2 separate regions of the Homo sapiens genome follow, and region 1 is linked to region 2. Evidence: promoter capture Hi-C in 16 types of primary human blood cells and fetal thymus (Javierre and others, 2016). All regions are on one chromosome and are shown on one strand. The core of a region is centred on a gene start or on the middle of the fragment in contact, and the rest is flanking DNA. Distances in the headings are between cores, read along the strand shown. Region 1 overlaps TAF1 (TATA-box binding protein associated factor 1). Region 2 holds the start of GCNA (germ cell nuclear acidic peptidase).

Region 1 (4,683 bases), core at 1,294-3,793, 150 kb after region 2:
CTCACACAATTTTATACTGCCAACAGCAATACGTGAGAGCACCTGTCTCACTACCATTATGTCTACTAAAAAATTGAGTTGGCCAAGCGCAGTGGCTCACAAGGTCAGAAGTTCGAGACCAGCCTGGCCAAGATGGTGAAACCCCATCTCTACTAAAAATACAAAAATTAGCCAGGCACGGTGGCGGGAGCCTGTAATCTCAGCTACTTGGGAGGCTGAGGCAGGAGAATTGCTTGAACCCGGGAGGCGGAGGGTGCAGTGAGCCAAGATCGCGCCACTGCACTCTAGCCTGGGCGACAGAGCAAGACTCCATCTCAGAAAAAAAAAAAAAAAAAAAATTGAGCTAATCTAATAGGTTTAAAAAAAAAAGTATCTCTTTCTTTCAATTGCTTTTTTTTTTTTCTTCCTTCTTAGACTAAGTCTCACTCTATCACCCAGGCTGGAGTGCAGTGGCACTATCTCGGCTCACCGCAACCTCTACCTCCCAGGTTCAAGCAATTCTCATGCCTCAGCCTCCTGAGTAGCTGGGATTACAGGCACCCGCCTCCACGCCCAGCTAATTTTTGTATTTTTAGGAAAGATGGGATTTCACCATCTTGGCCAGGCTGATCTCAAACTGCCGACCTAAGGTGATCTATCTGCCTCAGCCTCCCAAAGTGCTGGGATTACAGGCATGAGCCACCATGCCTGGCCCAATTGCATTTCTTGGATTACTAGTGCAACAGAATATTTATTCATGTTTGTTAGCTATTTAATTTTTCTCTTTTGTGATTTGTCCATCTGCCCTCTGCTTACTTTTTTATTAGTATCTTCTGGGTTTTTCTTACTGTTTTACATAAGCTCCTTGTTAAGTCTGCCCTATGTCCTAAGTCAGCCATCACCAGGTCAAGTACCTTTCTGTAACACTCTTGCTTATCACTTGCTATACATAGTCTTTTTTAGACATCTGTGAGCTTACCAACACTTCTACTGCCAGAATTCTGGGTGATTAGGTGTTTTCATAAAACAATAATGGATAATTGACCCAACAAGGGACATTTCCACTCTCCACTTTCCAATGTGTAATAAGCACAGCAAACTGAGAAAGTACATTCTTTCAACCCAAACCAGAATGAACAAAAATGAAAATCTCATCTCCTTAATGATATATGCATGTTCTAGTTACGTATAGTTCCCTGAACTTGCCCTGCTCTTTCATTCTTCCATGATATTGAACATTGTGTTCTCTGCCCAGAATGCTTATTTCTTCATCAGTCTTTCTGACTGTCCAATCCTTCACCTTTTCTCTCCAGTTCTCTGCCCCTTCTGACAAACTTAACAGCCGTACTACTTACTGCTAAAAATTACAGGAGAAAAGTCTTATAATCATGTGGATTCTTAATTGAGAACCTCAGTACGCCAGATAATTCTCTCAAACGTCCTTAGCTCCCTCTTCTATTTGTTTAAGGAATTATAAGAAATTGTTTCCCTGCTTCATTCCTTCAATGTTTTCCCATTTAGGATCAAGTACAAACTCAAGTATAGCACACAAAATCCTCTATGATTTGACTCTTGCCTGCCTCTCAAAACAGTTATTTACCAGTATGTACACTTGAACTGCAACCCCAACACTGTCTCTTTGTTTTTTTTTTTTTGAGATGGAGTTTCACTCTTGTTGCCCAGGCTGGAGTGCAATGGCGGCATCTCGGCTCCCTGCAACCTCCACCTCCAGGGTACAAGCGATTCTCCTGCCTCAGCCTCCCGACTAGCTGGGATCACAGGCATGCACCACCATGCCCAGCTAATTTTGTACTTTTAGTAGAGACGGGGTTTCTCCATGTTGGTCAGCCTGGTCTCAAACTCCCGATTTCAGGTGATCCGCCGGCCTCGGCCTCCCAAAGCGCTGGGATTACAGGCGTGAGCCACCACACCCAGCCTGTTTCCTAAACCTATCATGCAATTTCAGGCCTCTGTGCCTTTACATATCGCTGTTCTCTCTACCCTAGAACATTTTCTCCTCCACATTCTTTGCCAAGTAAACACCATTGATCTTTCAGAACTCAGCTTAAGAAAACTCTCTTCTGGATGGGTGTGGTGGCTCATGCCTGTAATCCTAACACTTTGGGAGGCCAAGATGGGAGGATGGCTTGAGCCCTGGAGTTCCAGACCAGACTGGGCAACACAGCAAGACCCCCATCTCTATTTACAAAAAAGAAAAAGAAGAAAGAAAACCCTCTTCCAGAAAGCTTCCTCTAACCCCACTTTTTTTTTTTTTCTGAGATGGGGTCTCACTATGTTGCCCAGGCTGGTCTTGCACTCCTGAGCTCAAATGATCCGCCCGCCTTGGCCTCCCAAGGTACTAGGATCACAGGTGTGAGCTACCGCACCCAGCCCCACTCTAATTTAGATATACTGTCCTGTGACACTCTGTGCATGCTTATAGTAATAAAATTTAAGTACTATAATTTTTCTTTTCTGTTTCTCCAACTAAACTAACTTGGAGCAGAGACCATATCTAATTTGATATTAGTAACATCTATCAGTGCCAGCGCATGTAAGTACTCAATGTTTAAAAATTGAGTCATTAAAAACTGAACTATATTAGCTCGTTTATGAAGCCTTCCCTAACTCTCAGGTTATTCCTTGCTCTCGTCTGATGCAATCTGCACATACTTCTATTATAGCTCTTGTCAAGCTGCACTTTACTTATTTATTTTATTTATTTATAGAGACAGGGTCTTGCTGTTGCCCAGGATGTAGTGCAGGGGCGTGATCATAGCTCACTGCAGTCTTGAAATCCTGAGTTCAAGTGATCCTCTTGCCTTAGCCTCCCAAATATCTTAAGACTTCAGGCACTCACCACCACACCTAGCTAAGCTTTTGTTTATAAGTTTTTTATACAGACAAGGAAGGTCTTGCTATGTGTGCCCAGGCTGGTCTCAAACTCCTGGCCTCAAGCAATCCTCCCACCTCAGCCTACCAAAGTGTTGAGATTACAGGTATGAGCCACCATGCCTGGTTCCAAGCTGCATTTTAATTGTCTCTTTCTGCCAACTGGATTGTGAATTACTTGAGGACAGTGACTGTCTTTCTTATCAGTAGATTAAGCAGCTAGCACAGGGCCTGGCATATGTTATTCAATCAACTCATGTACTGAGCAAAACTCCATGCACCAAGGAAGCTCACCATGGTCTATAGCTACCCATTTCCCTAAGCTCCATGTAAGGGCCTGGGACATAGGTGAGTTTTCACATTCCAGGAAAAAGCAGTGATAGCTCAGAGCCCAAATGGATAAAAATCCATTTGATTTTTATGCTCACCTCATTTTTCTGTGCTTTCCAAGATTCCAAAAGTAAGCGTATACTACTTTTTCATCATTAACGGCTAATAGCAATCTTTATAGAACATACACACTAAAATATATGCTTGCTTTAAAAAAAAAGACTGGCTGGGAGCAGTGGCTCACGCCTGTAATCCCAGCACTTTGGGAGGCTGAGGCAGGTGGATCACCTGAGGTCAGGAATTCGAGACCAGCCTGGCCAACATAGTGAAACCCCGTTTCTACTAAAAATACAAAAATTAGCTGGGCATGGTGGCAGGCACCTGCAATCCCAGCTACTCAGGAGGCTGAGGCAAGAAAATTGCTTGAACCTGGGAGAGGTGGAGGTTGCAGTGAGCCGAGATCGTGCCATTGCACTCCTGCCTGGGCAACAAGAGTGAAACTCCATCTCAAAATAAATAAATAAATAGAAAGACTAGGTCACTCAATTGATTCTGCTATCACTGCTCAAGGTTGCTTTACGCACATAAATTTTAATAATACTGGTTAGGCGTGTTGGCTCACACCTGTAATCCCAGCATTTTGGGAAGCCGAGGTGGGAGGATTGCTTGAGCTCAGCCTGGGCAAAATAGTAAAACCCTGTCTCTACCAAAAAAAAAAAAAAAAAAAAAAAAAAGAGCCTGGCACGGTGGCGTGTGCCTGGTTCAGTGAACTATGATCACACCACAGCATCCAGCCTGGGTAAGAGAGCAAGATCCTGTCTCAAAAAAAAATTTTTTAATAATGCTAAGTAATGTTAGATGGATAGAAGATGGACGGATTCATGGAAAGAAAATAATGAGAAATACCCACCATTATACTTAACACTGTTGGCCAGAATAAGGTTTACATCATCCAGAAAGCTCTCCCGACTCTGATACTTGTGCTTGGAGATGTTCTGTGATGAAAAGAATCAGGCACTCAGATACACACACACACAGTCACTTGATTACAAAAAGGCATTTAGATCAAATCACTCACTCACCTTACGTATGGTCTCTAAATCCATTGGATTGACAATCACTTTGTAATAATCTGGAACAAATTTCTTATTAACTGGGTGATGAAATGGCCAAGACTAGTAAATAGAAAGCATAAGAAATTAAATGGAAACCACTCTTCATACGAGAATTTCACCACCTTTGTTGGGTTACAAATATTCCTAAAAAAAGCTATGGACTCTTTTCCTAGAAAAACACATAATCATACAAAACTTCTGTTTATAATGTAAGGGGTTCATAGATTCCTTTAAGGATTTCTATGCCATGATAGGATAAAAACACTTGCTGTATAGTCATAATTAAAATTCCTTATTCCCTAGTCCCAACGAGAAGTTTTATAGCATTACACATATAGAACACATTCCTATAGTACAAAAGGAAACT
Region 2 (5,263 bases), core at 301-2,800:
ACTCTGGCTTCTCACTGGTCTTATATGAATCCGGCCACCCCCTCCACGCTTCCTATTCCTGCCTCCAGCCTCTAGCCAATCTTCGACCAAACAGGCCTTGACCCCTCCCCAACTCCTTCCTCCTATCAGGTCTGGACCCTACCCCCACCATTCTCACCTCAGTCTTCCACCAATCAGGCCTCAACCCCACCACCCTTCCCCCACACTCGCACCTCCAACCACCTCCAGCCACCTTCAACTGCTCCCAACCGGTTTTCCAAGCAGGCTTCCACTCCCCCACACTTCTATCCAACTTCTGCCCTACCCCACTCCTGTCTCCCACCACCACTCAGTCCTCAGCCAAAGAGACCTCAACCCCCACACACACACCCCTACCCACAACCACTAGCTCCCACCTCCCCCCAATGCTGCAACGGGCACCCCCACTTCTCCCCACAGCCACTGGCACCCCCACCTCCAATGCCACCACCAGCATCCTCACTTCTCCCCACGCCCACCAGCACCACCACGTGCTCCTAGGCCACTTCCACCACCACCAAGTGTTCCTACGCCGCCACCAGAACCCCCCACTTCCCTCAACGCCCCCATTGGCACCCCCACCTTCAATGCGGCCACCGGCGCCTCCACTTCTCCCCACACCGCCAGCGCTACTATGTGCTCCTATGCCACCAACGCCACCAAGTACTCCTAGGCCGCAACTGGCACCCCCACCTCCCCCCACGCTGCCACTGGCATCCCTACTTCTCCCCACCCGCCACTAGGGACACCACCTGTTCCTACACCACCACTGGGGCCCCCACCTCCCCCCAGTGCCGCAACCAGCGCCCTCACTTCTCCCCGCGCCGCCACCGGCGCCACGTATTCCTACATAGCCACTGGCGCCACCACACGCTCCTACGCCACCACCAGCGCTCCCACTTCCCCCAAGGCCGCCAATGGTGCCCCTACTTCTCCCCACACCGTCACTGGTGCTACCACATGCTCCTACACCACCACCAGCACCCCCACTTCCCCGACACTGCCACAGGCACCCCCACTTCCCCCAACGCCGCCACTGGTGCCCCTACTTCTCTCCACCCGCCACTGGCACCAACACCTCCTTCTACGCCACCACCAGGCCCCCCACTATCTGCAATGACGCCACCAGCGCCCCTTCTCCCCACGCCGCCACTGGCACTACCAGCTGCTCCTACGCCGCCACCGGCGCCCCCACCCCTCCCAATGCCGCCACTGGCGCCACCATATGTTTCCTACACCACCATGGGCGCCCCCACCTCCCCCAATGCTACCACTGGCGCCTCCACTTCTCCCCTCGCTGCCACTTCCTCTACTCCCACCTCAGGCCTACACGGGCAACCAGAGTCCAAGGTATACAGTGGTCCTGATTTTAATTAAGTCACTCAATTAGGATTAACCTCTGGACCACTTCAGCACCCATCTCAGTCCGACCAGCCGGTCACCTACCTGGTGTTGCAGCCTCTGGCGTGGCCGGCAGCAGCTCACCTCCAACTGCCCGTGGAGTGTGTGCAAAGATCCGGAGCAACTGCGATGAACAACGCCAGGCGCAGGCCCCTTTATAGTGCCCGGACCTAGGGGGCGGTAGCAGTAATTCACGTGTGCTCGCCCGCGCTCCCCTGTACCCACCTATCACAGTGGTCACAAGACAAATTTGAACTTCGCGCCTGTGAACTTGGCGCCTAGCTGTAACGCTTCCGGGATCAGGTCTGTCGCTTTCCACTCCCACGGATGTTGCTTATTTGTCCCAAAACCGCCATTTCAATACTAGAGCGTGGGCACCCGAGGCCAATTCTGCGATTAAAAGTCCCTAACAACTTTCTGATAAAGAGAAACCATGTGAAATCGTTCATAACAAACTTTTATCCTGCGAGAACTTGGATAAGCGAGCCTTGTTCCTTACTTGAATTGTCCAGACCTCTAAGTCCGTTATTGCAACCACTGGGAAAGGGCGCGGGGGGAGGGGCGGGGGCACGAGAACTGGAGCGAAGGCGCGGGAGCAGGGGCGTGGACGGGAACACCGAGGGGAGGGCGGGGCGCGGGGGGACGCGGGAGCGCAGGGGGGCGGGGGTTGCAGGGAAGGCCATCTAGACCCCTAGATAAGAGCAAGGCAGCAACTCAACAGCGCCTGGCAACGGCGAACTATGATGTTTACTTCCAGAACCCTCCAAACCCTGGAGATAAAAAAAGGTTACTTGAGGCTTTTTGGCACTCACTCCATACACACCAAGAAAAACAAACGGGGAAAACAGCGCTTTCTAGATTGTGCCAGTTTCTCCAGCGAGCATCTATATATTTCGTAATGTATGCCTTTGGGTAACAGAACACACATAAAATGTCCCTGCGTTTGATACTATTTTGTGCTAAGCATTATTCCAAGTGTCTTACGACTTAATTCATACAACACTTTAAAAAGTAGGCAACTGTTAGCACTCTCATTTTAGAGATCACACAGCTAGAAAGTGGCAGAGCTGGCCGGGCACAGTGGCTCACGCCTGTAACCCCAGCACTTTGGGAGGCTGAGGCGGGTGGATCACGAAGTCAGGAGCTTGAGACCAGCCTGGTCAACATGGTGAAACCCCGTCTCTACTAAAGATAAAAAAAAAAAAATAGCCGCGTGTGGTGGCCCGCGCCTGTAATCCCAGCTACTCGGGAGGCTGAGGCAGGAGAATCGCTGGAACCTGGGAGGCGGAGGTTGCAGTGAGCCGAGATCGTGCCATTGCACTCCAGCATGGGGACAGGGCGAGACTCCATCTCAAAAAAAAAAAAAAAAGTGGCAGAGCTGAGATTCAAACTCCAACTCTAGTTCCAAAACCTGCTCTTAAGCACCAGATTGCCTACCTAAATACAGATACTTTCTCAGTTGATAAAAAAATTGGATAAAGGGGGCTGATTACTCTCTCTCTCTACAATGAAGTTGCAAATTAACCTCTACAAGCCTCTTTATAAGAATGGGGATTACATAACTGTGCCTCAGAGGCTTGGGCAAAGAACCAGGATGTTAGCTATAATTGAGAGGCATATGCTTCAAGTAAAAGAATGGGATAGGTTTGGAATCAAATCTTAAAATGGGCAGTTCAGAAATTACACACATTTACTCAAGGTGTGCAAGCAACTCCTTTAGATTGAAGGCAGGAGGAGCTGAAGTAGACTGGAAATAATGTAGATTTTTCAAGAGAAGCGAATGGGAGTAAAAACTTTTGAGTAGGCTTTCTTCCCATAATAATCTTTTAGGAAACAAACACCAATCCACATGAGGGCTTTAAGAAGTTGGGAATTAAATCATGCAAAATTTTACTGAAAAAAATCTTCCCTCTCATATCTGAGAAAACTGGCAAACAGCATTTGCCATGATATCAATTCATGATATCAATCATGAATTGATATCTTCCTCCCTGATGCTTGTGGCAGAGTTCGACCACTATACAGAGCAGGAAGGAAAATAATTTTGCCCCCAAGAGCCAAGAAAAGAATGGTCCACATGAAAACCGAGACTACAAGGGTAAATGAAAGCAGAGAGGTCACAAGCAAAAGAGGAGCAAGCATGAATGGGTGTGTTGGGGATCACAGGCTTTGTCTTTTTTTTTTTTTGAGATGACATCTCACTCTGTTGTCCAGGCTGGAATGCAATGGCACGATCTCAGCTCACTGCAACCTCTGCCTCCCGGGTTCAAGCGATTCTCCTGTCTCAGCCTCGCATGTAGTTGGGATTACAAGCGTGTGCCACCACTCCCGGCTAGTTTTTTTGTATTTTTAGTAGAGACAGGGTTTCACCATGTTAGCCAGGCTGGTCTTGAACTCCTGACCTCAAGTGATCCACCTGCCTCCGCCTCCCAAAGTGCTGGGGTTACAGGCGTGAGCCACCACACAAGGCCACTTTGCCTTCTTAATGGATCATAAACTAACCCCACCCTCTACCAGACCTGGCTGAGAAAACAATTCCTAATATCATAGCTACAGTAGGGAAATTTGGTCCTTTCATGCTGTTTGGAGGTGTTTAAATATAGGTTTCATCATTGGATGACACTATTCTTCAGTCCAACACTCAATATAACAGGATACAAAATACATCAGCCGTATTAAAGGGAAATCATTCATTTATTAAGGATCGCAAGACAACATCTTAATTTCTGTAGTACGATTTAAATGTTTTACTTCTTTGATAAAGCAGAGTACAATAGAAAAAAAACAATTAGTTTCCAGTAATATCTATATCTCTAATCAGAATTAAGTCTTCCAAGACATATTACCTGGAAATAAAAGCCTGTTACAATAAGCAAAGCTTCAACCAGAGCGGCTACTTTTCGTGCCAGGAAAAAGTTCATCCCTATAGGAGGAATGATGTGCTATGTAAAATGGCTGTAAGGTCACAGCCTTGAGGGCATTGGAAGTATATTATCCTATTCCACATTAAGTATTTCAGCGAATTTCAAACATCAGTTTATCTGCAACCATGCTGGCAACCTTTAACTGATATTTCAATCAACCGGTAAAAAATAAATTAAGAAATCCCTTCACGGATATTCCGTGATTTACACTGTTAAAAGGTACACTGTTCATTAACATGTAATTCTGGTTCAGAATTACCTTTGAGACTCCTTGCTCAAAATTTGGTTAACAGTAAGAATCTTCCAGAAATTCAAGTTCTTATTAATCAATAATTTGTCAGCTAGGATACATTCAGGCATCAGCTGCAACTACAGAATAGGTGCACAGCCTCAGCGCTTTGGAAAGACATAATCTAGAACACTACTAGCAGACAAAAAATTACCTGCAACTGGATAGCGTAAGTGCAGTATAGCGAGACAAAACATATATTCATATGTTGGCTTGTTTAAGCCTCAAACCCTCGACCCTTTGTTGAGATCCCATAATTTTATTCCTATGATTTTAATAACTCAAGTTCCAGGAGGACTATAAGTCTAATTTGTACTCCAAACCAAACAGCAGTGCAGTTCGCTACTACTGAGGCTGAATCTGTACAGACTTCAAGACCAAGTCCAGAAGACAGTTATTATCTAAAAAATAATTACTTGAATACATAGATGATCCTTCAGAGATTTTACCTATAACCTATTTCTTGATGAAGGTTATTTAATGCACTGGAGATAACTGTGACTTACTGATCAAATACTTGAATACTTATACTTACCTGGGATTTCATTTCTGCTGAAAGAAATAGGAAGAACAGGACTCACTTAAAAAAAAAAAAAAAAAACTTTAGAAAGGAAGGTAAAAATCTTACACA

The links. Contacts are between HindIII fragments. The CHiCAGO score rates a contact against its expected background, and 5 or more counts as called.
Region 1: a contact is called between a fragment that was not itself captured here and the fragment with the promoter of GCNA in region 2, in 16 of 17 cell types (activated CD4 T cells, naive CD8 T cells, naive CD4 T cells and 13 more). The highest score is 16.0, in activated CD4 T cells.

What each region holds. Positions count from the first base shown.
Region 1 is chrX:71,423,667-71,428,349 of GRCh38, reverse strand. It overlaps TAF1 (TATA-box binding protein associated factor 1), which reads right to left. Exons shown (of 38, transcript NM_004606.5): 31 at 4,284-4,376; 32 at 4,112-4,196. Among named protein-coding and RNA genes, the nearest start is that of TAF1, 60 kb to the right of the region's middle. The HindIII fragment of the contact is 631 bases long and covers 2,228-2,858 here.
Region 2 is chrX:71,574,724-71,579,986 of GRCh38, reverse strand. It overlaps GCNA (germ cell nuclear acidic peptidase), which reads right to left and starts at 1,550. Exons shown (of 13, transcript NM_052957.5): 1 at 1,465-1,550. OGT (O-linked N-acetylglucosamine (GlcNAc) transferase) reads right to left here. Exons shown (of 22, transcript NM_181672.3): 22 at 4,095-5,263. RefSeq lists an enhancer at 702-1,343. The HindIII fragment of the contact is 6,206 bases long and covers 1-4,299 here.